7 separate regions of the Homo sapiens genome follow, and regions 2, 3, 4, 5, 6 and 7 are each linked to region 1. Evidence: promoter capture Hi-C in 16 types of primary human blood cells and fetal thymus (Javierre and others, 2016). All regions are on one chromosome and are shown on one strand. The core of a region is centred on a gene start or on the middle of the fragment in contact, and the rest is flanking DNA. Distances in the headings are between cores, read along the strand shown. Region 1 holds the start of NPHP3-AS1 (NPHP3 antisense RNA 1). Region 2 overlaps BFSP2-AS1 (BFSP2 antisense RNA 1). Region 3 overlaps BFSP2 (beaded filament structural protein 2). Region 4 overlaps BFSP2 (beaded filament structural protein 2). Region 5 overlaps TMEM108 (transmembrane protein 108). Region 6 overlaps TMEM108 (transmembrane protein 108). Region 7 overlaps TMEM108 (transmembrane protein 108).

Region 1 (3,042 bases), core at 543-3,042:
ACCAATTATCAGGAACTTCATGTTGCCATTTTATTCAAAACATGATGGAAAAAAACCGCAACCATGCTTGAACTACCACAAATAAAGACCAACATTAAGCTTTCAATGGAAATTAACTTTTTTTGAAACACTGCATCAGCTCTTAAACTTCCTTATGCCTTTTCCATCTTTGTGATAGTAAAAATTACATTTTGTAAGGCTTAACTTGAAGGATAAGTAGTTCTAAGAGACTGTGTGCCTGTTGGCACTATGTCTTATTCATCTCACCATCCCTTGAGCACTTCACAGTGCCTGGTACACTGCAAGTCTCCAGTAAATGTCTGACACAATGAATGAAATAAATATGGATAAGTTTTTTCATGCCTCGATATGTGAGAAAGGAACCAGTATGTTTCACAGGGAATCAGGATTGGTGACATGAGTGACTGTGACACTTGCCAACCCTTATTGCACTCCGCCCTGTTTGGTTTGGCCTTTTCTACCCCCACCTCACAGTTGTTTCCAACGTGCGGTGTCTGTTGGGCAGTGGCTTGGATACATTGAATCAGATATTTGAAATGCACTAGTCCATTTTATACATGCAAGTGCATTAAGGTTGCCCAGTAGGAAAACTGATAAGACAACAGATAAACTGCTACACGGACTTCTTCCCAGACAACGACAATAATTACACAACAGCTAATGAGGGAGTTTAAAAACAAAAACAACAACAACAACAACAACAAAACCTGACTAGAAGAATGTCTAGTCTTGAAGACAGGAGGCTTTTTTTCTTTTAGAAAAATCAGTCTGAGGTATTTATTTCACCCCGACTGTAACGACTCCGGGAACTCTTAGGCTGCCTATAAGTCTCTCCCACAGTAAAGAGTACACAAACGACACAACAACGACCAGAGGGGCCCCAAACTGAGGGCAAAAAGTTTTAGAGATTCGTTCACAGAAAAGCAACCTCTTGCTTTATACTATTTTTTTTTTTTTGATACGGAGTCTCGCTCTGTCACCCAAGCTGGAGTGCAATGGTGCAATCTCGGCTCACTGCAACCTCCGCCTCCCGGGTTCAAGCAATTCTCTTGCCTCAGCCTCCTGAGTAGCTGGGATTACAGGCGCGTGCCACCATGCCCGGCTAATTTTTGTATTTTTAGTAGAGACGGGGTTTCACCATGTTGGCCAGGCTGATCTCGAACTCCTGACCTCAGGTGATCCGTCCGCCTAGGCCTCGAAAAGTGTTGGGATTACAGGCGTGAGCCACCACGCCCGGCTGCTTTACATACTATTTTATTGAATTATAATGGACCTGCTACATGGAGGGCATGCAATAATTGCTTTTAGCGTAAATTAATCAAATGGACTAGGGAAATTTGACTACATCTAGAGAAGGTTTTCAACCATGGTGAGATCAGGAGGCTTCCAGAAATTTTCATGTCAAGACCATTAAAATGCAAGAGCGATGAAACTTTACAAAGAAACCGACACTTGAGCCCCACTTTGGAGACCCACTTAAAATTTTTATGGTGGGGAGGGGGGTGAAACTCCTAGGAAGAGTTTGCTGAGTTGCTTCAACAGATGTCACCAGCCTTCTGAGGGGGTGGGCGCGGGGGCGGCAGTGGAGCTGGAGATTGGCATTTGCCTCCTCAGGACACTTTCCGGCTAATTTCTTCTAGGTGCCTCAATGAATAAACCAGAAATAGAAAAGCGGGGACCAGGCGCGGTGGCTCACTCCTGTAATCCCAGAACTTTAGGAGGCCGAGGCGGGAGGATCATTGAGCCCAGGAGTTCCAGGTTGCAGTGAGCCGCGATCGTGCCACCGCAGCGAGACCCTGTCTCCAAAAAAAGAGACAGAAAAAGGGGAGGGTTAAGGAATCATTTCAGACTCGAAGAGAATATGGCCTCTCAAATTAAAATGGGCAGTTTCCGCCGAACTTTCAAAGCCGCTTGGTTTGGAGAGGGAGCAGGACGGCCGTGCTTCCCAAGGGTCTCCCGGCGTCGCGGCCCAGCCCGGCGTTACCTGCAGTTCGGCCCGCAGCCGCTTGTTCTCCGTGTCCAGCTTGGCCTCGCGGCGGCCCATGGACAACAACTCCTGGTTCTTGCTGACGCGAAAGATCTCGTACTCCTTCCTGAGCCGCTCGTACTCGGCCGCCGCGTACTCCAGCTCTGGCACCGACGAGCCAGTGGACTTGAAGCTGGCCCCCAGCAGCCCGCCCGCGCCCACCCCGCGGGGCAGCGACCCGGGCCCGGCCCCTGCTGCCGCCCCCGCGCCTCGGCGGAACGAGTTGCGCAGCAGGCGGGCCTTGGGCTTCACCTCCACCGGGATCTCGCAGGCCTCGCCGCCGCCCGCCCCGTACGTGTCCTCGATCACTTCCCCGCCCGCGGGGCTCACGAGCGACGAGGCGGTCCCCATGGCGTCCGTTGCCGCTACTACCTAGTGAGTACCAGCAGGACTGGGCAGCGGAACGGAACGGGACGGGGTGGGGCAGAGGAACGGAACGGGACGGGGCGGGGCAGAGGAACGGAACGGGACGGGGCGGGCCAGCGGGATGGAGCGGGGCCGGAGAGCAGGACTGGGCGGAGCAGCGGGACGGGGCGGAGCAGCGGAACGGGGCGAGGCGGGGGAGCGGGATGGGGCGGGGAAACAGGAGGGGCGGGGCAGCAGAACTGGGCGGGGCGGGGGTGCAGGACGGGGCGGGGGAGCAGGACGGGGCGGGGCAGCGGAACGGGGCGGGGCGGGGCCGGAGAGCCGGACGAGGCGAGGCAGCGGAACGGGGCGGGGAGGGAGAGCGGAAGGGGGTGGGGCAACTGGAGGGGCGGGGCAGCGGAACGGGACGGGGCAGCGGAACTGGGGGGATGGGCGAGGGGGACGGGGCGGGGCAGCAGGGCTAGGCGGGACAACAAGAGGGGCCGGGCAAGTGGGGCGGGGCATGTGGGCGGGGCAGGGCAAACGGGGGTGGGTCGAGAAAGCACACAGGGCCAGGCGGGCTAGCAAGAAGGGCGGGGCTAGCAGGAAGGATGGGGGGAGTGGCGACTGTGCAGGACCAGCAGTGGACC
Region 2 (3,880 bases), core at 815-3,314, 760 kb after region 1:
TGCTCACTGAAGGATCAACAATGCAAAGGATAAGAAAAGCAAAGCAGACAGAGCAGCACATTACAGTTTTCACAACCCCTTCATAGATTCATTTTGTCATCAAAGGTATAAAAATAGACATCTGAGTCTGACCTCACTTGGTTTTCAGCAAGTTGATTTAGCAAGAACCATCAAGCACCATGCCTGTCTCTGATTGTCTCCACACACCCCATAGATATTATTTTATAAACCCTTACATTGTCTTGCTTGTTTTGAGAAAAGGATGGGTTGTTTCTTTGGAGACAAATCTAGAATCTTATCTGGGATTGCCAGACTTAGGAAATAAAAATATAGAATGCCCAGTTTAATTTAAATTTCAGATAAAAAAAGGAAGAGGTTTTTAGTATAAGTATGTCCCACATGTTGCATGAGACATACTTATGCTAAAACATTAGCTTGCAGCTGTAATAATATCAGACAGAAGCACTCCATACTTCGTATTCCCCACATAGTTATCTGACATCAAGCAATTCATAAAGGTTTGCCTAGCACTTCCAGTTGGGACATCCCAATACACAAGAAGGGGAAAGGATGACCCAGACTGTGTCTTTACCCATTCTTGATTGGAAACTCAGTCCCCTGACACAAAAGCACCATCGTGTTTGAGAAATTAGTCTGCTAGTTTAGTGAAGAACTAAAGCAAACTGTTTTCTCAGCTGAAGTAACTGGTTTGATTGGATCATATCGACTGGTTATTTTGAACAAAAGGTTGAGCAGGAACAGGAATAGATCCCAGCATAGACATGTGGTGTTGCAGAGTCGACAGAGTTTTTGCTATCATGCCCAAGAGGAAATATTCCATTTTCTCCTGCTCTGAGAGTGGAAGGTAATTTGCACCACAGGGAGTCCAGTTTTCAGTGTAATTCTGGGATTGGACCAAAAAACATGTTGCATCTTAAAGAAAGGGCTTTGCAAAATGGATGAGCAAAAACTACTAAATTTCTTTGGACAAGTCATGCATACCTTGTTTTTGTTTTGTTTTTATCTACAGCTAAAGTTCTTACTGACATCCTAGACAGGAAAAGTGTATAAATGGGGTTCACAACTTTAAACTAAAAAGACAAAGGCAAACCTGACAAGATGATTAAGACAAGTTGTCACTAACTCCCTGGATGATAATTAATGGTGTTGTGGTTGCTTTGAGAAGAAAACAAAAGGAGAGGGGACAGGAAATCAATAGACTAGTGGTAGGTTCAGCCCCTCATTGTTTAGTACCAGCAACCAAAAGAAAAGAAGCAAGAGAAACACGTAGGGTAATAAATTGTCCTGAGGAAGTGAAATAGTGGGTTTACACATTATTTTGGGAATTCAGTCTTAGCAGTTCACCAGAGCAACAATCATGCTGAGTAGTGGAAAGCTCCCTCCAAAACTAAATCCTTTTCCTCAATAAATATTTATGCAGTCCCTGTTATATGTCAATGCCATGTTAGAGGCCAAGAATATGAAGATGTACGAAATGTGAACCTGCCCTTAAATAATCTAGATTAGCACTGTCCAATAGAAACAGAATGCAAACTACATATGTAATTTTAATTTTTCTAATAGCCATATCTCAAAAAGGGAAAAATAAACAGGTGAAATTAATTTTAATATATTTTAATCATCTTGTTATGTCCAAAATTCTATTATTTCATAATGTAATCAATATTTTTAAATTATTGAGAGTTTTATATTTTTGGTACTAAGTTTGAAATCTGGCTTATGTTTTACCCTAATAGCCCATCTCAATTCACATACTAAATCTTCATCAGAAATACTTGAGCTATATTTAAATTTCATAAAATTTATAGTTGAAAAAGTAAATTGACGTACCCAAGCTGTTCCAAACATACTTAAAAGTTTTCCAATAACTGAATTTAAGATCACAAGATTTGTTTTCCTTTGATCTTCATATCCACATTGACATAAAGTGGTTCATCTTTTTCAGAAGAGTTCGTGTGACTTTGAAGCAAAAGCACATCAGTTTCAAAACCACACCTGTCTAAGTTAAGTAAATTCATTAAGTCTTGCATCTCATTCAGTATTTATTAACATCATGTTCAAGGAGGTATTACATATATTGAGAATCAACTCTAAATGTATCAACATAAAAAATCCCATTTCAAATTTTTCTTATAAGTTTTCAGGACAAATATTTTACACAGCTTAAGATTTTAATTAAATTTTTAATTAATTAAAATTAAATAACACTTAAAATTCAGTTCTTCCGTCACACTAGTCATATTTCAAGAGCTCAATAGCCACATGTGGCCAGTGGCTACCACAATGGACAGCATAGATTAAAGTTGACTAGAGGTGGGTGGGATCTACAATGGATTTGACCAGCTTGTGAAAACAATCGAGGTCATATTTGCACGATAATTTGTGAGAAGTCCTGCTTTCCCACCAATTTTCCTCACCAAATACAACTGAAATTCCTGGCAGGTGAGCGTCCCACCTAGAAACAGAGTGGCTACATTCCAACAGTTTTATAGGCCTCCTAATTGGCCCACGTAATCCTTCTACTGCTGAAATTCCTGGCAGGTGAGCGTCCCACCTAGAAACAGAGTGGCTACATTCCAACAGTTTTATAGGCCTCCTAATTGGCCCACGTAATCCTTCTACTGCACTGCACTGCTTCTCATAACTAGCTCTTTTGGAGGGAGTTTCCTCTACCAGAGACCTTGAGCCTCCCCTGACACAGGCCTTTTGTTTTCTTTCATACCCCTCTCCTTTCCTTAATCTCCTAACCACATAAGCCCTGGGAGAAGTGAGCTGAATCAAAGAGGCCAGCACGGCCTAACAGCCAGCCCCCACCTGCTCAGTCAGACTATTCTGCCAGTCTCTTCTCTCCCTCATGGTGATTTTCTCTCCAAGGTCTCATAGGCTGTCTCTCAATCTAGCTTCAGGACCCACCTCAAATTACATCAGTTCTTCTGACAGCTCTGAACCCTATCTCTGGGCTGAATTCTCATTCCTGTTTCAGCCCCATGCAAATCAAGGCAAGTGACCAGGCATCTGTTTCAACATCCCCAGACACTTTCTGAGCTTTTTTTAAACATCATACACAAATCACTCAATATAATCCATCACATAAACAGAACCAATGACAAAAACCACATGATTATCTCAATAGATGCAGAAAAGGCCTTTGACAAAATTCAACACCCCTTCACGCTAAAAACTCTCAATAAACTAGGTATTGATGGAATGTATCTCAAAAAAATAAGAGCTATTTATGACAAACCCACAACCAATATCATTCTGAATGGGCAAAAACTGGAAGCATTCCCTTTGAAAACCGGCACAAGACAAGGATGCCCTCTCTCACCACTCCTATTCAACATAGTGTTGGAAGTTCTGGCCAGGGCAATCAGACAAGAGGAAGAAATAAAGGGTATTCAATTAGGAAAAGAGGAAGTCAAATTGTCCCTGTTTGCAGATGACATGATTGTATATTTAGAAAACCCCATCGTCTCAGCCCAAAATCTCCTCAAGCTGATAAGCAACTTCAGCAAAGTCTCAGGATACAAAATCAATGTGCAAAAATCACAAGCATTCCTATACACCAATAAAGAGAAACAGAGAGCCAAATCATGAGTGAACTCCCATTCACAATTGCTACAAAGAGAATAAAATACCTAGGAATCCAACTTATAAGGGATGTGAAGGATCTCTTCAAGGAGAACTACAAACCACTGCTCAATGAAATAAAAGAGGACACAAACAAATGGAAGAACATTCCATGCTCATATATAGGAAGAATCAATATCGTGAAAATGGCCATACTGCCCAAGGTAATTTATAGATTCAATGCCATCCCCATCAAGCTACCAATGACTTTCTTCACAGAATTGCAAAA
Region 3 (3,880 bases), core at 756-3,255, 740 kb after region 1:
AGTATCAACATTCTCTCTCCTCACTCTCCCTCCTCCTGAACACTCGCCTTCCCCTCACATTGCAAAGGTAGCGTTTCTGTCAGTTCTGGGTCATTGCCAAGGGTGTTTTTAGGAATGGCCATCCTAATCAGCAAAGTGGGTCAGGCTTGGACTTGGAGATGGTTCTTTTCCTCTTTCCCAGTCCTCATTTGTATCTTCAAGAGTCAGGCTCTCAAATACTTAATTATTACTTACTTAGAACACATTGCTTTTCTCTTCTCACATCCTTCATGTGCAAAAACATGCTAATTTAATTTGAAATTTTTGAAATTTGAAAATCTTTATTATGTTTCAAAATGTCGACATGCTCTCCTGCCCCAGAAGTAATTGCACTCCTACCCTGCTGGAGTGCAAACACGGGCGGCTCAGGTCCTGTGCAGTTTCAAAGCCTAGGGATCAACATATCTGAATTTCATCACACACCCTAACAACTGCACCGGGCAACAAAACACAGCCCCACCTTCCTATCCTCAGGGGCTAGATGACACACCTACTCTCTGGTCTATGAGAAGAAATCTGGAGGCACAGGGTTGAAATGGAAACAGAAATAGAGTTATAATAACCAGAAAGCACAAATCTAAAAAGCCATTGGATAAAAATGTGTAATACTTTTAGGTGAATTACTTTTAGCAGTGGTTACTTTAGGTGAGTTAAAGCAATTAAGTGGGAAGTATCTCTTGTGGTGAGATGATTTGAGAAGGAACACAGTGACATTAAAACTTGTAGTGATCAAATTACATTCTTTTGCTCTTTCAATCTTAAACTAGAAGAAAGCCTCTGTTCAGTGCTGGGAGGTCTTTAACACCTCTGTTGTACTTATTTATCTCCCCTTTCCACAAAGAGAAAGCAGGCCTCAGGACTTAGCAGCTTGGCAGTCAATGGTAGCTGGAATTTAATAACAGTGGTTGGTTATAACTTTATTAATTTTTTAGTTATCCTCTACCCACTGCAAGGGATACTGTTTCATTGGTTTCTGCAGCGATCTAGAATTTTGCTTCCATGGACCAGGCAGGCATGGACCTGGGAGTGCAGATTTCTGAGCTGTACTCAGGATCCCCTGCATCAGAGCCCACATTTTCTCAAGATCCTAAGGTGACGCTCATGCGCATTTAACCTATAGTTTCCATTTTAAACTAACCTACAGTTTACAGATAACTAACCTACAGTTTCCATTTTAAACACGTTTATTTGTAAAAAAAGAGTGAATTGGTTTAAATAAAAATAGCATGAATGAGTATTAAGAGAGTGTGAAAAACCATGTCAGTGGTGCAAGAACATTTGAGAAACACCTAAATACAGTATTTTTGCTAATGAAACTAAGACATGGTGTTTCAGCCAAGAAACCAGTAAATATCACGGAAGCTGCTCACTGGATTGAGAGGGGACAAATCATGTGAGGGACTGTGGCTATAGCCTTGGCCAGCAGCTTTACACTAGACCTGCACACCAAGGCTTTGAAACTTGCCTCCATTCCTTCCCTGGCTTTTCCGTATGGAGTGATGGTAAATGTTTCACAACTGCTTTCTGGGTGAAATATATGTATATGTATATATGTGCCAATCACATTCACAATACTGCTTAAGGGTAATGTAACAATTCCCACTGATTTTTTTATATATAATTTTAGAAATAACACAAATTTTAAGACAAAATACTTTGCTATTTCAATTACACCTATAACTTCAGCATGACTTGCTATTTCTTGGAAAATTCACCAACCATTTTTTATAATTCTATCATCAACAATAGTATCACAAAATCAGACTACAAAAAATGCTTGATTACTAATTTCTGATTAAGCAAAAAGTCACTCACATTATTTGTTACTGGTGGCAAATCTGTAGGGGGTCTGAAGCAACCTCAATTCTTGCCTCCTCAGAAGAAAGAATTCAACTGAAGGGCATAAAGCAGAAGAGACGGAGGCAAGTTTTAGAACAGGAGTGAAAGTTTATTTAAAAACTCTAGAGCAGAGACCGGGTGCGGTGGCTCACGCCTGAAATCCCAGCACTTTGGGAAGCTGAAGCCGGCGGATCAACTGAGGTCAGGATTTCGAGACCAGCCTGGCCAACATGGAGAAACCCCATCTCTACTAAAAATACAAAAATTAGCCGGGCATGGTGGCAGGCGCCTGTAATCTCAGCTACTCGGGAGGCTGAGGCAGGAGAATTGCTTGAACCTGGGAGGCAGAGGTTGCGGTGAGCTGAGATCGCACCATCGCACTCCAGCCTGGGGGACAAGAGCAAGACTTCATCTCAAAACAAAACAAACAAAAAACTCTAGAGCAGAAACAAAAGGAAGGAAATACACTTGGAAGAGGGCCAAGCAGGCAACTTGAAAGACAAGTGCGCAGTTTGACCTTTTGACTTGGGGATTTATACGTTGGCATGCTTCTGGGATCTTTCATCCCTTCTCCCGATTCCTCCCTTGGGGTGGGGTGTCCGCATGTGCGATGGCCTGCTAGCACTTCGGAGGGGAGCATGCGCAGTGTGTTTACTGGAGTTGTACACCTGCTCATTTAAGGCATTCTTCTCTTACCAGCTAAATGCCCCTAGGAGGTCATATACCAGTTTAACTCTGCCATTTTGCCTTTTAGTGTGCATGCTTGAGCTCACTTGCCCAACTCCTGAGATCTTATCAGGAAGTTGCTGATCACCAGTTTCAGGTTTTTTCTATCTTTAGGGAGACTGCTTTTCCCTGCCAGCTGTGACAAGTTATTATTTTAGAGAGACTGTTAACAACCACCTGACCATCACCTGATGGTCACCTGACATTCTTAGTTGGTTGTGGGGGTGCCTCTCCCGCCCTGTTCATGTCTGACTGGCTACCTATTAGCTACCTCTGTTACAGTTACCAGTAACAATGTAATTTAATTTCTAATGATGGCTGTGTTTAGCAGTCAACTTACAACATTCCTGAAAATTTAAAAATCAGCTCCCGTGAGCTGTTAGGAGCAAGTTCTAGCTCACTACTGCTCCCCGCCACCCTCTGTAGCTACATTGTCTGACTCCATTTGCCTTCCAGGATGCCCCACCTCCTGCCTCCTACCTACCTACACAGCCCATCTGGCCAGGAACCCAACCCCAAAGAGGGGAGAAAAACTGGGGTATTGATCATAAGAACTTGGAAGACAAGGAGTATACTTCAGAATGATCCACCTGAGTTTGGGGAAGATACCTCCAATTTTAGGGATCTTAAATTGGTAGATTGGTGGAGATGACAACATTAAATACTAGTTGAGAGCACATCTCTGGGTCTGCTGCTGGGCTGGAATCCTCTTTCTGTCTCTCACTGGCCATATAATCTTGAGCAAATAACTCAATCTCCCTGTGCCTCAGTTTCCTATGAGGATAATAATGACATCTCCTTCATAGGGTTGTAAAGATTAAATTAGATACTTGATTAAAACTGTTAACAATGTGCTTGGCACAGAATAAGTGCCTAATACATATTCTTTATTATTAGTAGTATTTAACTATTACTATTTAATTGTTACTAAATATTTGACTCTTCATAGTAGCATTTAACTATTACCACTTTGTTATTTAACTATTAAATAACAAAAGTTATTTGTTGGCCACTATTACTTTTTACATTTGGAAAATATATAGTCAGTGTTTTCATGCTTTTAAGATTCTAAAGGCTTCAGCATGCTTAATCTGCTGGAAGCCTCACAGTGACCACAGGAGGGAGTCATTATATGATAATGAGTATTATTCTCCATTCATTGTGGTCTGTGTTCCATGGGCAGAAATTGAGACTCTGAGAAGCTGAATGATGGCTTAGGGACACAAGCTGTTGGCTAACCAGTCAGAGCTGGGTCCAAGGCTTCTGTTCTCCTTCA
Region 4 (3,880 bases), core at 591-3,090, 720 kb after region 1:
TTATATTCTAGCAGAAAATACAGATAAAATAATTTAAAAACCATAAAATTGATAATACAAGCTTTGGTAAGTGTTTTAAAGAAAACTAACAAAGCAGAAAGGGGCAGAGTAAAGGGAAGCACTGCTCGCAGTAAGGTGACCAGAATGAGGGAGCTATTCATGCAAAGGGGAAGGGAGGAGTGGGCCAGGCAGGGGAGTCGGCAAGTGCTAGGGCCTTGAGCAGGAGAGGGACTGGTATGGTCCAGAAAGACCAAGACCCACATGGCTGGAGCCTTTGGAGCAATGGAAGAGTAACAAGCATGCAGGGCCTTGAAGGCCACTTCAGAAGACTGGGTTTTACTCTAAGTATAAGAGACACTTCTATAGAGTTTTGTTTTGTTTTGTGTGTTGTTTTTGTTCTGAGATGGGCTTTCACTTTCACTCTGTCTCTCAGGCTGGAGTGCAGTGGTGCAATCATAGCTCACTGCAGCCTCGACCTCCTGGCCTCAAGAGATCCTCCCACATCAGTCTCCCAAGTAGCTGGACTGTGGGTGCACATCATGACACCTGGATAAATTCTGTTTTTTTGTTTTGTTTTGTTTTTTGGAGAGATAGGGTTTTGCTATGTTGCCCAGGCTGGTCTCAAACTTCTAGGCTCAAGCAATCCACCCACCCTGTCCTCCCAAAGTGCTGGGCTTATAGGCGTGAACCACCACACCTAGCCCCTCTGAAGAGTTTTAATTTAGTTTAATCAGAGTGACATGATATGATTTTAAGAGTTTAAAAAGCCCACTCTGGAAGCAGGATGCAGAATGCATTGGAGGAGGGAGGTACAGATCAGGGAGTTGGAAGGATATTACAATGGGATATTATAATGGGATAGGAGAGCATGATGGGGACTTGCACTAGGGTGATGTCAAGAGAGGTAGAGAGAAATAAATGGATTTGAGATACATTGTGGGGGTAGAATTGACTAGACTCAGTGATAAATGAGATGTGGGAGATGACAGAAAGTGAGAGATCAAGATGATCCCTTGGTTTCCGGGTAGACATTGGGGTTGTTTACTGAGATGAAGAGGATCAAGGGGTGGTGGGGAAAGGGAAGATTTGTGGGGAAATTATCTAGATTTTCTTTTTTTTTTTTTTAATGGATTTTCACTCTTGTTGCCCAGGCTGGAGTGCAGTGGTGCGATCTCAGCTCACTGCTACCTCTGCCTCCTGGGTTCAAGCCATGATCCTGCCTCAGCCTCCTAAATAGCTGGAATTACAGGTGCGTGCAACCACGCCCAGCTAATTTTTTGTATTTTTAGTAGAGGCAGGGGTTTCACTATGTTGGCCAGGCTGGTCTGGAACAACTGACCTCAGGTAATCCACCCACCTCAGCCTCCCAAAGTGCTGGGATTCCAGGCGTGAGCCACCGCACCCGGCCAAAATTATCTAGATTTTCATTCGGGGACATGTTAAGTTTGAGATGTCTGAGAAATAGCCAAGTGAAGACCTCAAAGAGAGGGTGAGTATGCAAGTGTGGAGCTGAGCAGAAAGTTCTGAGATAGACATTTAAATGTGAAAGTCATTAGCACATACAATGCCATTTAAATCTGTGTGGATAGATCAGACCATTTAGTGATTAAAAAAAAGAAGCACCAAGACCCAATCTTGAAAAACTTTAACATTTAGAGGTCAGATAAGGAAGAAAAACCTGGTGAAGCAGAGAATAATAAGAAAGAATGGTCAATGAAGTAGGAGGAAGTCCAGAGAGAGTGGTGTCATGGAAGCCGAGACAGAAAAGTACATCTGTGACAAATGCAACCAGCAGGTCAATATGAGCACAGAGAAGCATCTGCCGGGCTTGGTAATACGGTGGCCTTGTTATTAAGAGCAGTATCACTGGGGTGCTAGGGACTGAGAATTATTTCTCATTCCTTTATTGCTAGAAGCAAGTTATGCTGAACATCCATCCTAAACTTGAAAGTCAAATAAATGTGGGAAGGGTTTCCAAGGGAATCTTGCATCTTGCCACTGCACCAGCTGAGTTTAATTTCCCAGGAGCTCAGTCTTACCCACCTCCTCCCCACACCTGCAGCTCTAGCTGCCAGAATGCCAATATCTTTACTCCAAACAAACCATTCATTGTACCCTTGGGCCCAAATGATAACCTTTTTTAAAACGCTGCTTGTATTTGCCTTTCCTTTAACACAATGATGGTCAAATCTCTCATCCACCACCACCAGCTCATTTATTTTAATAACTACATCCGCAGTGAAAACAGGAGTAGTATTATAGAAAGAGATAAAGTCCTCACCATCATGGTACAAATGACTAGGACTTTTCAGATGACTATGGACAGGAAAAACAAAGGAAAAAAATATATATGTATATATATACATATATATATATCAAGCCACTAGATGGAAGTCTTCATTCAACTGCCTGTGCACTTCAGAAAAGTAAAGCAGGATCAGTGCCAGACTGCACAAACCCATCAAATTCATTCGACATTCATTGAACAACTGCTTTGTACAAAGACAAATAACAATGATGATAATGGCTACCGTTCATGCAATATTTACTCTGTGCCAGGCAATCTGCTGAGTCACACATACGCTGAGTCTCACACACCTTGGCTCATTTAATTCTCCCAGGAGGAAGGGAGTATTATTATCTTCATTTTATGGGGGAGGAAACCAAATCTTAGAATTACTTACTCTAAGCAACTGACCCATGCTTGTGAATGGAGGAGCCAGTTTCCAGAATAAGAAAACACTGTCGTTGTCTACAAAGTATTTATACTAAATGTGGTAAGAGAGGGATAATGTGCCACAGGGGTGGGCTGTGACTCAGATGCAGGAACCAGCCAATGAGGGAGGAAGAGAATCAGCAAAGGCCCCACCATGCTCTCTACAGCTCAGGATGAAACGGAGCGGTCACCCCTAATTGTTTTCCCTCACTCTCCCCATAACTACTGCACCACAAAGAACCGACTGTTCTATCCCCCAAATGCATCTTAAACTAGTCCACATTTTTCCACCTACCCTATGATCACATCGTTCGTCCAGGCCACCATCATTAATAAAATGGGCTCCCTGGACCACCGCAAGAGCCTCCCGACTGGTTCTTTGGCATCTTCTCCTGCCTCCTCCAATCCTCTCTTCCCACAGTAGTCAGAGGGTCCACTTAGTGCACAGATCACCTCTGTAACCTGCTCAAGCCCTTTCAAAGGCTTCCCAGTAAATCTCAACTCCTTTCCATTGTGCCCAAGGCCTTCCCTCTATGGTCTGGTCTTGTCTACCTTTTTAACCTCATCTCCTACAGTAGCGGCTGGTTTCTCAACAAACAGGACAGAGCCTGGCATAAACAGTAATTATGTGCTGAAGAAATTAAGGCAAGAATGAATGAGTGAATAAATAGAAAAGTTTCATGGGGAAGCCGTGTTTGAAATGAGCATTATACTGGAGCAGGCTTTCTCAGACTGAGGGCTGGGAGTGGGGAGGTAGTGAAACAAGTTGCTCTCAATGGAGGCAGCAGGTGCAAAGGCACAGAGGGATTCCAGGTGCAGCAGGGAGGCAGCTAGAGCAGGCCTGGGGGCAGGGCCATGTGAAACCGGGGTTCTCAAGGTTGAGTATGCATCATAAGCCCCTGGAAAGCTTGCTGAGACACAAATTGTTGGGACCCACCTGCAGAGATTCTGATAGGTCCATCTGAAACAGGAGCTGAAAAGTGCATTTCTCACAAGTTCCCAGGTGATGCTGCTGCCACTGGTCCAGGGCCCACACTTTGAGAACCACTAGTGCAAAGTACAGTCAGTCCTTCACATCCATGGGTTCCACATCCATGGATTCAACCAACTGTAGATCAAAATATTTTTTAAAAAATAGATGATTGCGTTTATACTGAACATGTG
Region 5 (3,880 bases), core at 532-3,031, 670 kb after region 1:
GAGGCCCTCCCTCCCTTACCACTCTGTATTAATTAAATCTCCAACCTCATTCTGTTTCCTCTTCCTTACTTTACTTGTCTTCAGAGCTCTTCTCACCACTTGACATTGCATCATTGTCTCTCTGTTGATTGGTTTGTGGTCTGGCTGTCCTGCTGCCTGAGGCAGGAGCATTGTTTGTTGTGCTCACTGCTCTATTCCCAGCACCTGGAGCAGTGCCTGGCACATGGTAGGTTCTTAGTAAATGTTTATCATGTGAATGAACTATAAATGTTGTTCACCACAATTTACCCATCACCCAGTCAGAGCCTAACACACAGTAAATGCCCAAGAAAAATTTTTAAGCAGAGGACAAACGAGGGGCCAGCTTCACTGCAGCATTGACCTTTAGTGTGGCCTGTACACATTTTGCATGGAAAAGGTGTTCCTGAGATCTGTTGTAGTAAGTGGAAAAAAATATGTAACTTGACAAAGGGGCTGGTCCTACTTTAGGTATGGGCTGTGAACCCCTGAACTTTAAATTTCTCATATTCTCTTTGCAAATTGGTAAATGAAAACCAAAGCCAAAGGACAATACTCGTGAACGCACTATAGAAAAGGCCCTTGCTTTTAGAACATCCCAGTTAGTCATTTGGCACAGAGCACGAGGGCTGCCGTCCAACACAATCCAGAGGCTCTGGTAGAAAGGGCTGCCCCAGCCAGTCGTGATCTTCAGACCAGGAGGGCGCCATAGGACCTGCAGCACAAAGCTCAGCTTGGCTTCAGAGTGGATTGGATTTTGCTGTTTCCCTCCCAGCAAGCCGTTCCTCTTGTTCTGCTTTATTTAGAGTAATATTACAATTTGTTCCAATTCTCTGGGCTCACACTATATGAGGGTAAATGCAGGCAGCCTAGGGCCAGGATGAAGCCAGCCAAGCACACACACACTGCTGACCATCTCTAGAGCAATCATAAGGTCCCAGTTCATATTCCACCATGTTCCACATCCTCAGGACATGTACTCACCACCTGCCCTTTAGCTGCTAACTTTGGAGACTGCCAAATGGTTTGCCTAAGCAAGTTCCTCAGTTGCCCTGCCCCCACTGCTGTGTTGATGCAAGCAGCAAAACACAGATCCAGGGCTGTACAGACAAAATTGTGATGCCCAACAAGTGCTTGGAAACTTCCATTCTTTTTTCTTTTTCCCACCTCCTCCTCCTCCTTCTCCCTGTTTTCTCTTCTTCCTTCTTTTCTCCCTCCTTCTCTCCTCCCTTCTTTTTTCTTCTCCTTTGCTTTGGTTGTTTCCTGAATAACTCTCTCTTTAATGCAGCAAAACATACCCACATGGTTTTGCCTTTGGTGAAGACTTGCTTTGTGAAAGCTATAAAATGACAAGCCAAGCTCAGCCTCCACAGTTAAACCCAAAAGCATGGTGGAGGAAAGGGATTTTTGTCTCCTCTTTGAAGTGCTCCACTATTTTCCTTAGATGGCTGGCCCCATATCCACCCTTAGATAGGTGTTGAACTAATTCCAGACACTGAAGGAAATTCTTGTCTTCTGAAAAGACATTTTATCAACAATGGCATTTCTTCCTTACCTTATGATTCATACAGCAGTAAGTACTCCTCAGAAAGTATCTGTTATGTATGTTTTGTTTAAAAATAAACTTCAGAGAATTAATTGTGGCTAAGCAAATCTGGCATGAGCCAGTATACCTAGGCCTATAGTTGAGTCTTTGTCCTGAAATGGCTTGAAGGTTCCAAGACATTAGCTGTTTTAATTGGAAGAAGCTATGACTTTCTTTTTTTCTCTCTCTTAATTAGTACCAGGGCCCAAATCCAAGTACAGCCATTTAGTAGCCCGTAAATGTTTGCTTGTCCTTGGTAAGTGAAACCAAAACCCTGCCAAAGCCATACAGATTACCTTCTGGGCAGTGGATGGCCTATTTCTAGGCTTTTCTGCTCCTGCAACTGAACATACAGACTGAAATTTTCATCTGTCACTTATTATGCAGTCACACAGAGATGCAGATCCATTCAGCTCAGCATCACTAGTGCTATAAGAAATGGGGCAATAATTCTGACCAGGCTCTGGAAGGACTCAGAGCGGGAAGGAATTGGCCCTTGAAGCCTCTTGACAGGTCTGTTAGATCCTGACAGGTGGGTAGCAGGAAACAGGCGAGTGAGTCTAGGTGTATTCAGGAAGGAAAAGCAGAGAAGTTTCCCAGAAGTCTGTGAGAAAGAGGCAGGAAGTAGTCTGGGTGCAAGTGGACTGAGTTTTGCCACTAGTGCAGTGAGCCATGCACTGTATGTGTGTCATGCATGGCAAGTCCCCTCAGACTTTGACAAGGAAAGCAGTACCATCTCTGGCAACCTGGGATTGGGGTGATTCCAGAAGCAGGGAACATTTTTTGAAAGCTGCTATAAAAATATGAAAGAACAGCACAAAAATTAAAATATACACATACACACACACACACAAATTAATTAAAAGAATGGCATAGAGGGCTGTGCACCTCAGCATTAGCAGTAGGGATGATGAAAATGTGCACCAAGCCATCAGTGCTGAAATAAATGTTCCCATGTGTACATTTCTTTAAGAATGGCCACCTCTTAAGCCTTCTCCAGCTCACTCCATCTCCTCCCTCTCTCTTCCCAGGACCAGCTCTCAGAGCCCCGCTCCCCAGCCAATGGCGACTATAGAGACACTGGGATGGTCCTTGTTAACCCCTTCTGTCAAGAAACACTGTTTGTGGGAAACGATCAAGTATCTGAGATCTAACTACAGCAGGCATCACTTTGCCATTCCGTATTTTTCGTCTCTAAATTATAAATATACAAATACATATATTATAAATATAACCTTTGTGTAACCCTGACTTAATGAGAAACATTTTCAGCTTTTTTTCCTATGAATTGTCAACATCTTTTTTACAAGTGTGGTTTAAAAAAAAAAAAAACTTTACAGAATGATCTGTGGCTTTATAAAATAAAGGTATTTCTAAGCAAAGCAGTTGCATTGATTGCTTCTCTTAATAACTATTCTTGAGCACCTGGGGATCCCAGGAACCCTGGTCAGGTGAGGTAAGAGACTGACCTCCTGTAGAAGCTGAATGTTACAGTGCAAGCGCACGATTCTTTGAGTGATTCTTAAAGCTCTGGTTCCTCTTGATTTGGTGTGACCCCATTTCCTCCCTTCTCATACGCACACCTGTAAAGGGAACTGGACCGCCTCAGGGGAAGACGGCAGACTCATGCACAGAGAAGGAAAAGGGAACATCTCATCACCTCTGAGGATGAGTACCCTGGAGCCTTATGACGGCACCATTGGATGTCATGTTTAATTCCATCCAAGTTGTGGATGGCAGGCAGGAGCATGGAGCCCTCAGGAATCCATGGAGGACATCAAGGCATCCCAAGGCCATATTCCCCTAACATTACTTCCACTGCTAACAACAGGACTGCCTTTCCCTGGTGGGAAAATGCTCCCTTTATGCCCATTCCTGTATCCCCTCCAACACCCACATCTGCATTAAACACCCGTGCCTTTCTCTTGGAGAGGGTTTAGATGCAGATCCCGGCCCTGGAGCTTTAAAATGCTTGCCCTTCCTTCTTCAAGGATCAAATGTTTATTGGGGTTCAGCTTTGTTTTCTCAAAAGGCCATGGTATCGTGCCCCTGAGGAACATGTTTATCTAAGAAGCTTTGAGGTAGTAGAGCGATAATTTTTGAAACCTTCCTCCTGCAATCTTTAAAAAAGAAAAAAAAGATTGCCCAAACAAATCATTTGGGAGAAGACATCATTATACTCCTACTTGGCACTGCAAACCTGCTCGCAGCACCAGCCGGTGGACTTGCCATCCAGCTCTCAGCTTCCACTGCTCCCCTTGTTCCCGGCCGGCTGGC
Region 6 (3,880 bases), core at 514-3,013, 660 kb after region 1:
ATGTCAGTACAGGCTTAGCCCTTTGAGCAGTGTATAGTACATATTAGCCATTTCTCTTTTCATCAATTCCCTTGTTGCCTTTGCCAGATGCAAATGTCATGCCCAATATGGACTGCAGGCAGCCAACCAAATAAACAGAAGGAGGAGGACCTTTCCTTCCCTTGGGTCCTGAGCTCATGTATGCATTGGAATTTTCAGTAGGAGGAGACCTTCTTGTGATGTCTGGACACCCATCAATATGTAGATTCCACCCCACAACAATTGTCCATATTCAGACACGTTTTAAAAATCGGTTCCACATTTCAAGCATGTGAAGCTAGGTTTTAGCTTTAGTCTCTACTACATATTTGGAATTAAAGCCTCTAGAGTCCATTATGCAAATCCATGCAAATAATATGCAAAGAGGCAGTAGCCTCAGATTGTGGGGAGGGGGAGTGTGTAGTCCAGCACAAAGGGCCTTGAATGAAAATTTGCATGTGTTAGGGAAGCCCTGGGTTGAAGGCCTCAGATGTTTATTGTGACAGTGTGCATAGCATTCAGTTGTTAACCTTTTGTGCCAAAGAAGAGAGGTAAATGCTTGTCTGATTTCCATATTGAAGGTGACAGTAGAGGTTGGAGGTGGTATTTGGCTAGCACAACATTGTAGGGATTTTTATTATACAAATGAAAAGTTGCTTTGAAATAATGGCTGTGGTCCAGGCTGTGTCCCCAACCAGCAATGTGTTCTTGGACAAGTCACTTCCCTCCTTCTGTTGCCCACTCTGTGAAATGAGGGGATTGGATTAGGTGAAATGCCAGATCCCCTCTCACTGTAACATGTAAACATCATCCTCCAGGTAAAAATCCCTTGGCACCCACGGTGGCAGTATCCGTTCATTGTGCCAAAGATGATGTACTCTAAAGTCCAAAGAAGAAAGGGCTAAGAGGTAACTCTACAGTTCTAGAGAGAACAATAACTTCAGGGGATGCTGATAGCTGAGTGGGGGAAATAGGCAGCAGCAACAAAGACAAACATATTTACTTAGGCTGTGTATCTTACAGCACCAAGGATTCCAGTCAAAGGCTTCCCAGCTAGGAGGATGTTAGTTCCTGGAATGCCAGTGATGGGAAAGTCAGGGGAATTTTTTTCCCTGAGTGTTTTAAAGATCAGTCTGTATTAACCCCTCTCTCTGCCTCTGGAGTGCCGCAAAAGTTCTCCTAGAGGCCATGGTGGCTCCTCTCCCACCTGAGGGCCTGTCCCTGGGGTCAGCCAATGTTGCTTCCAAAAGACTGCTGTGTCCTTGGTCTCCGGTCTTTTATTGTATCTGACACATCTGGTGCCTGGCCCCAGAGATTCCCCGGGCCCTTAATTTTAACTCCAGCTGTTGCAGCAAACACCAGCTGGGTGCAGGCAGAACCTGACAGCCCTATGGCCCAGAACTTCTCTGATCCAGCTAATGGAGACCTGGCGTCAGTCAGGAAGTGCAGTGATGAGCATCCCAGGAGCAGCCCTTGATCAGTGAATATGGGAGCCTCTGGGTGAGTGTTCTTTTCAGGCAGACAATTTGAGGTGCAGCCTACTCAGCTCCACTGACGTCCCCTGTGAGTTTGAGGTGCCCACCTGGACCAGCTCATAACCTGCCCTCAGATTGGTTTTCCCTGTTTCACTAATCTCAGACCCCCACGGCTGACCCCACAGATCATTTTCCAGTATAAACTTCCTGCACAAAAGCCCTGTCTCTGTCTCTCCTTTTTCAGAGGATCTCTTAACATAAGGCATGTGTATTAGTTTGCTAGGGCTTCCATAACACAATACCACAGACAGAAATGTACTTCCTCACATTTGAGGAGGATGGAAGTCTAAATTCAAGGCGCCAATAGGGTTGGAGTCCCCCGAGTCCTCTCTCCTTGGCTTGCAGATGGCGTCCTCTAGCTGCCGTGTCCTCACATGATCATCCCTCTGTGCACACGTGCTCCAGATGTCTGTGTGTCCTAATCTCCTCTTCTTAAGAAGGACACCAGTCAGATCGAATTAGGGCCCACTCTTTTGGCCTCATTTTACTTTAATTACCTCTTTGAAAGCCCTATCTCCAAATATAGTCACATTCTAAGGTACTGGGAATTAGGGATTCAACATAGGGATTTTGGGGGTGCATAAGTCAGTCCTTAACAACACTTAACACTTGTGAGCTAAACAGACACTTGAAAGGGAATGTCCATCAAAACATGGAGGTCACCACCACTAGCCCTAGGAATAGATTGTCTCTCTGGTGTTAAGCTGTGGGCAGGATAGGGGCACCAGAATAACCCTGAGCAGGTCAGAGCATAACAGCACATTAATTCTTCTGGGATGCAACATACTGTCCTCTTCTTCCTCCTTCTGCATCATTGATAGTGGTTGACCAGGATAAGCATGCACTTTAAAGACAACCCTTGTTTCACATACTTCTGCTACTGTGTGACTTTCCACATGTTGCCTAATCTCCCCAAACCTCAATTTCATGCTCCACCAAGTGGTCATATGGATTAAAGCATGAAAGCCTGGGCCAGGGCAAGTGTTCAGTAAACAGGTTTTAGGATTGACTCGAATACACAGAATGTGCTGTCGGTGTGTGGTCTAGATCAGGGGTCCCCAACCACTGGGTCACAGACCAGTACCAGTCTGTGGCCTGTTAGGAACCAGGCTGCACCACAAGAGGTGGGAGGCCGGTGAGCCAGCATCACCACCGGAGCATCACCGCCAGAGCGTTACTGCCAGAGCTCTGCCTCCTGTCAGGTCAGCGGCACCATTAGATTCTCATAGGAGCACAAACCCTATTGTGAACTGCACATGCAAGGGATGGATCTGGTTGCGTGCTCCTGATGAGAATTGAATGCCTGCTGATCTGAGGTGGAAGAGTTTCATCCCAAAACCATACCCCCCCCGACCAACTCCAGTCCATGGAAAAACTGTCTTCCACAAAACCAAGTGGAAGACAATTTGTCCCTGGTGCCAAAAAGGTTGGGGACCGCTAGTCTAGATCATGAATGAAAGTTTAGAAAAAAATAGATTGTTTAGGGCAAATTTTTGGTCCTAGAGTTGGTGGGTGCTACAGCCTCAGTGCAATCTAAAGTCCCCCGCAGCCTCCCACTCCCCACCAATTTAGAAGTGCAGGGTGAGGACACAGGCCCATGCCCAGGCTCCACCACACACCAAACGGTGATCCTGGGCCTTGTGTCAAAGGCATGCCTGGAGATCTCCTCCCCATCTCTGCTTCTCGCCAGGGCCCTGCCTTCTCCATCAGACACCTGGGAATCACAGCTGGGGCCCCTGCTTTGGCCGTTTGTCCTGCTGGAATCTGATGGAGGAAAGACGCTCTGAGAGAGTAATTAGACGCAGACAGAGATCTCTCTCCATAGTCAGAGGAGCCTAGCAGGGGCTGAAGGAACTGCCTGAGGATGACAAAGAAGGGGATCCATGAACAAGGAGGTGCTAACAGGTCAGAATCAGGCCTCAGAGGACTGTTGGCCCTTCCTCAGCCGTAGAGACAGGCTCTTCCCAACCCATGTGTTGTCAACGGCTCCTACATGTCATGCTTGCATGAGGTACCATTTTTAAAAATAGGCACATGCTATTGTGATTGATAAAATCCACACATAACTAGAAATGTTTTTAAACATATACGTTTTTGTCCTTGTGCATTTTCTTGAACTGCAAGTATGCACATTGGCTATCATACAAAATCCTTTTTTTTTTTTTTTTTTTAATGTTCAAAAGGGCTCCTTCTACTCAAAAAGGCTGGATATCACCAATGACAATTTTTCAGAGTTCAGCCACATGAATGCCATAGGAAAAGCAGTTAATAACAACCATGACACCAGCCGGCATTTGTAGAAGGCACCTTCTGTTCCAGGCTGTGCT
Region 7 (3,880 bases), core at 860-3,359, 570 kb after region 1:
TCAGCCTCCCGTGTAGCTGGGCTCATAAGCATGTACCACCACACCCAGCTAATTTTATTTTTTGTAGAGACACGGTCTCCCTGTGTTGTCCAGGCTGGTCTCAAACTCCTGGGCTCAAATGATCCTCCCACCTGGGGCTCCCAAAGTGCTGGGATTACAGGCGTGAGCCAGCACACCAGGCCTACCAGTGAGTTTTTTTTAATGGGACAGCAGCAACCTTCATGGAGCTATGGAATTTCTCTGAGCCTCATCCAAGAGAGAGGTGGAATTTTTATTATTATTATTATAAGCCCCTTAGATGTCCTATGTCCCTGAACTTGTCCTTAATGAAGCCATCAAACTCATTATATTACGCTGCCTAAGATGCAGAAGGCAGGGTTCCTCAAGGTACCTGGAGCCGTTTCAACTCCTTTCCCATCTATCTCGGCCTTTCTCAGCTCCAGACTCTTGACAAAGTACAGACATACACGATCTCTCTACTGCCTTCCTCCCTTCCCAAAACATTCAGAGTTAATCCCACTGTAAGTCATGTCTTGTTGAAAATCATTTGGCTGAGCAGGATCTGCAGTGGTTCCCAACCCTGACTGCACATCTGAATACATCCCCTCAGGAGCTTGATAACAAGAGAAATCTAGATTTAGTACATTTGGGATGAGGCCCATGAATTTGTATTCTTAAGAAGTGCCTCAGATGATTCTGTTAGAAAACACTTTGTGGGAACCTTGATGGTTGCGTAGAAGTTTACCAGATTGGTAAAGGGAAGAAGAGAATGTTTTTTTTATACATGGGATATAAAATGCCATGTGTGCAAGTATGGATAAGGAAATATGTGTGGCAAGTTCAAGGTTTTCAAACTGTGCTCCAAAAAACTGCTCAGGTAGGACAGAAGTTGTTTTATAAATATCAAGGTTCTTCATAAGATTTCTTCAAATAAAGGTTTCACTGCTAAGCTCCCCTCCAGTTCCATTGTTTTTACCTCACAAAGTGATGGTTTCCTTGCCCAGTCCTCATTAGGCCCATTGCCAGGGTTTCGGTTGATCTCAGGCTCTCCTTTGATCCTACCATTGTCTGCCTCTTGCTTGCTGTTAGCTTTGGCACTGATTGTCATCATAAGAGAAATAAACAACATGCGTGGAACTTGGAATTCTGCTGCTTATAAAATGTGTCAGGCATGAACAGCCCACCCAAGTGTTCTGCAATTAGGTGGTAGGCACGTGTGGTTTTGTTTCAGAGCCTGCCTGCTATGGGGACCCTGGAGACAGTTTTTATAAAGTTTTTTTTAAAGCATCTGTTTCAAACTCTAAAGCACCAAAGCCCTCTCCTTTTCTCAGAGACACAGATGCCTTAGCCACAACTCCCCTGCTGTAAAATTCTGAACTTAGCAGTTTGATCAAGCAAAGCTTTGTAGAGAGCTCTGGGCTTGAGATAGAGGATGCTTGGCTTCCAGTTCTATTTCATATGCCACTTGCTTACACCAACTTAAGCCAAATAACTGGCCAAATGAGACATTCTCTAGGTCATAGTTTCCCTATCTATAAAGTTGGTATACTAGCATGCTTTTATTTCTGAGACCAGGAATAACAAGTGATGTCTTAGGTGAATGGAGCTTTGAGAGAAAAGAGTAACATTCTATAAACATAATATTCTTAAGAACAATAGGGAACAGAATTGTGCATAATTTAACCTTGTAAGACAAGTTGCTTTTTCTGAGACACAAAGAGGAATTAGTTTACCAGTAAATACCTTTTAGGAAATGTTAATTCTCATTGATAGAGTATTCATTTAAACCATCTGCCATTCATCAAAGGATCCAGCCTCCAACTTTCTTCAACACTGAGTCCACAGATGAATCAATCATGCCTACCTTTGAATTCTCATCAAATTTAGCACTTCTCTCCATGAAAGCCTTTATCACACTCCTCAAGGGTAGAAACCTTCTTCTTTGTATCTGTTCCCAAGCCTAACACAGAGCCTGGCACATAGTAAGCCCTTGACAAGTGTTGGCTTACTATGTGCCAGGTTCTATGTTAGGCTTGGGAATTAAATTGTTGGCTATTAAATGAATGAGGTTTGGACACTGTCCAGTATTGAATTAGATGCACTCAAGACCAAAGATTAATAATAAAATACACATTCCTGGATTCGAGTGGATCTTAAGGATTCATCTCACCAACTTCCTGCCTTATGCCAGTGCCAACTTTCAAGCATAACTAGGACCCTTTATTTTTAGTTCCTTCCTAAGACGGATGTTGAGTGGTTTTGCTGGCTAACTCGTCAAGCATGAGCATTCTTTGTGCAGCTTAAGTCCATTTTCTTTTTCTCCACTTACATGAAATTGAAGTAGAACATGCCTACATCTTGTGTGTGAGGGTTTTTTTTTAACATATTGAAGATTCCTCTTATCTCACAGTGTCTTGTCTAGTTCAGATTGGAAGCAGAGACCATCACCTCAATTAGAGTATAACAGAAGAGTTAAGAGGTTGTCAACTTGAATTTTAAAATTGCATCCAGTGGCAGCTGGCAACATAGAAATCAGCTTCCGTACACCAAGGGGAGATGTTGCAAACTGGAACACTGCCATCCTTTGCCAAAGATAGACCAGGCTACTGTGCAGAAAGTCTCAGATTTGTTATGACTGAATATTAATGTACCACTCTCTGTAAGTGTTTGGTCCTCTTTGCCTTATTTGATGTGATTTGAATGAATTTAATTTACTAGAAGTGCTTTTCTGGGTAATAAGCATTTATATTTTTCATCCTTATAAAAAATGCACGGCATCTTCAGGCAGAAAATAAGTGATAGTGTTAAATATAAGGAAGAAAGCTTTATTGTACAGTAGAAATCTTCCAACCTTAGGGTTATTTTGAGCTGATAGCAACATGGCACTAAAATTCTCAGAACTTCTCAGAAGAATTAGGTAATAAAAAGTGAAGCCACCATTTTTGTGTTATTTACTTTTTAAAAAATGCAATTTAGGGTTGAGAAGCTAAAGAAAACTATGAGAATACAAAAACACACAGCCTTATGTCCCAGAGCCATCACCTCATGATGACTCATCTCAGGATGTTTTCTCTACTTCCTTCAAATATGATTCTTTCCGGATAATTTAATTTAAATACCAATATAATGATTATTTCTGGAGATGGGGGATTTGCCTCCTATGATAATTCTCTTATCTGCAGAAGGATAGAATCAATTTAATTCCCAAGTAGCAATATTGAGATGTATTTTTATTGGTTTGCTTAATTATTTTTTAAACTTCTGTAACTACTGATGGAAACTAATTAAAACTAAATGCACATTAGCTTTTATTAAATGGCTGCTACTGAGATGGTGAAGTTCAGGAAATTGTAGGCCAGCACATTCCCTTTAATAATGTTGGCTGATTCACAATTGGGGTAATTTCAGATTTATGAGATTTAAAGCATCCATATGTCCTATTTCCTGAAGAATTTTTAATAAAGAAATTAATGTATGTGCCATTTCAATCTAATGAGAACAGAACCACTAACTGAATAATGTACATTCTTTGCCTGAAATCAAATTTCACCAACCTGGGAGTGTTACAGTGGAGAAAAGTACTTGGGGTTTATCTATCAAGTAAACGGAAGTCTTTCACCACTGATTTATGAAGTATCCCCTCCCCACTAGGTACTTTTGTAACAACAAATTATGGTAAAATGATGAATTTAAATAAAATTTGAGATGCTGCAGTCACATATTATTAACATTTAGATCATAAGCACTTTTTTAAATGTTTATTTCATTAAAAGGGCAAGTTTGGAGATTGACATCAGTTATCCAAATTTTTTTATGCAGAAACTAGAAAAAGTTTGCCCGGAACCCTGAGAACCATAGCATTTGAGATCTGGAAGGAGGC

The links. The method cuts DNA at HindIII sites, captures the fragments that hold promoters and counts their contacts. A CHiCAGO score of 5 or more calls a contact.
Region 2: a fragment that was not itself captured here is called in contact with the fragment with the promoter of NPHP3-AS1 in region 1 in 9 of 17 cell types (non-activated CD4 T cells, total CD4 T cells, M1 macrophages and 6 more); the score reaches 9.3 in non-activated CD4 T cells.
Region 3: a contact is called between a fragment that was not itself captured here and the fragment with the promoter of NPHP3-AS1 in region 1, in 13 of 17 cell types (total CD4 T cells, fetal thymus, naive CD8 T cells and 10 more). The highest score is 11.5, in total CD4 T cells.
Region 4: a contact is called between a fragment that was not itself captured here and the fragment with the promoter of NPHP3-AS1 in region 1, in 15 of 17 cell types (total CD4 T cells, naive CD8 T cells, naive CD4 T cells and 12 more). The highest score is 21.3, in total CD4 T cells.
Region 5: a fragment that was not itself captured here is called in contact with the fragment with the promoter of NPHP3-AS1 in region 1 in 5 of 17 cell types (megakaryocytes, endothelial precursors, fetal thymus and 2 more); the score reaches 11.2 in megakaryocytes.
Region 6: a contact is called between a fragment that was not itself captured here and the fragment with the promoter of NPHP3-AS1 in region 1, in 4 of 17 cell types (fetal thymus, megakaryocytes, erythroblasts and 1 more). The highest score is 8.3, in fetal thymus.
Region 7: a contact is called between a fragment that was not itself captured here and the fragment with the promoter of NPHP3-AS1 in region 1, in 1 of 17 cell types (endothelial precursors). The highest score is 7.7, in endothelial precursors.

The regions. Positions count from the first base shown.
Region 1 is chr3:132,719,958-132,722,999 of GRCh38, forward strand. It overlaps NPHP3-AS1 (NPHP3 antisense RNA 1), which reads left to right and starts at 1,793. Exons shown (of 11, transcript NR_002811.2): 1 at 1,793-2,422. It overlaps NPHP3 (nephrocystin 3), which reads right to left and starts at 2,452. Exons shown (of 27, transcript NM_153240.5): 1 at 2,006-2,452. The coding sequence starts at 2,398. It overlaps NPHP3-ACAD11 (NPHP3-ACAD11 readthrough (NMD candidate)), which reads right to left and starts at 2,502. Exons shown (of 45, transcript NR_037804.1): 1 at 2,006-2,502. RefSeq lists silencers at 2,109-2,358, 2,459-2,968. The HindIII fragment of the contact is 4,122 bases long and covers 98-3,042 here.
Region 2 is chr3:133,477,627-133,481,506 of GRCh38, forward strand. All of the region lies in intron 1 of BFSP2-AS1 (BFSP2 antisense RNA 1), which reads right to left. Among named protein-coding and RNA genes, the nearest start is that of BFSP2-AS1, 12 kb to the right of the region's middle. The HindIII fragment of the contact is 9,176 bases long and covers 1-3,880 here.
Region 3 is chr3:133,461,017-133,464,896 of GRCh38, forward strand. All of the region lies in intron 4 of BFSP2 (beaded filament structural protein 2), which reads left to right. The region is part of intron 1 of BFSP2-AS1 (BFSP2 antisense RNA 1); the gene reads right to left. Among named protein-coding and RNA genes, the nearest start is that of BFSP2-AS1, 28 kb to the right of the region's middle. The HindIII fragment of the contact is 5,737 bases long and covers 1-3,880 here.
Region 4 is chr3:133,441,752-133,445,631 of GRCh38, forward strand. All of the region lies in intron 1 of BFSP2 (beaded filament structural protein 2), which reads left to right. The region is part of intron 2 of BFSP2-AS1 (BFSP2 antisense RNA 1); the gene reads right to left. Among named protein-coding and RNA genes, the nearest start is that of BFSP2, 44 kb to the left of the region's middle. RefSeq lists an enhancer at 207-486. The HindIII fragment of the contact is 3,562 bases long and covers 60-3,621 here.
Region 5 is chr3:133,393,230-133,397,109 of GRCh38, forward strand. It overlaps TMEM108 (transmembrane protein 108), which reads left to right. Exons shown (of 6, transcript NM_023943.4): 6 at 2,635-3,880. The coding sequence ends at 2,757. Among named protein-coding and RNA genes, the nearest start is that of BFSP2, 4.9 kb to the right of the region's middle. The HindIII fragment of the contact is 3,788 bases long and covers 1-3,675 here.
Region 6 is chr3:133,375,099-133,378,978 of GRCh38, forward strand. The region is part of intron 3 of TMEM108 (transmembrane protein 108); the gene reads left to right. The region is part of intron 1 of LOC101927432 (a long non-coding RNA gene); the gene reads right to left. Among named protein-coding and RNA genes, the nearest start is that of BFSP2, 23 kb to the right of the region's middle. The HindIII fragment of the contact is 9,798 bases long and covers 1-3,880 here.
Region 7 is chr3:133,291,396-133,295,275 of GRCh38, forward strand. The region is part of intron 3 of TMEM108 (transmembrane protein 108); the gene reads left to right. Among named protein-coding and RNA genes, the nearest start is that of TMEM108-AS1, 36 kb to the left of the region's middle. The HindIII fragment of the contact is 1,423 bases long and covers 1,399-2,821 here.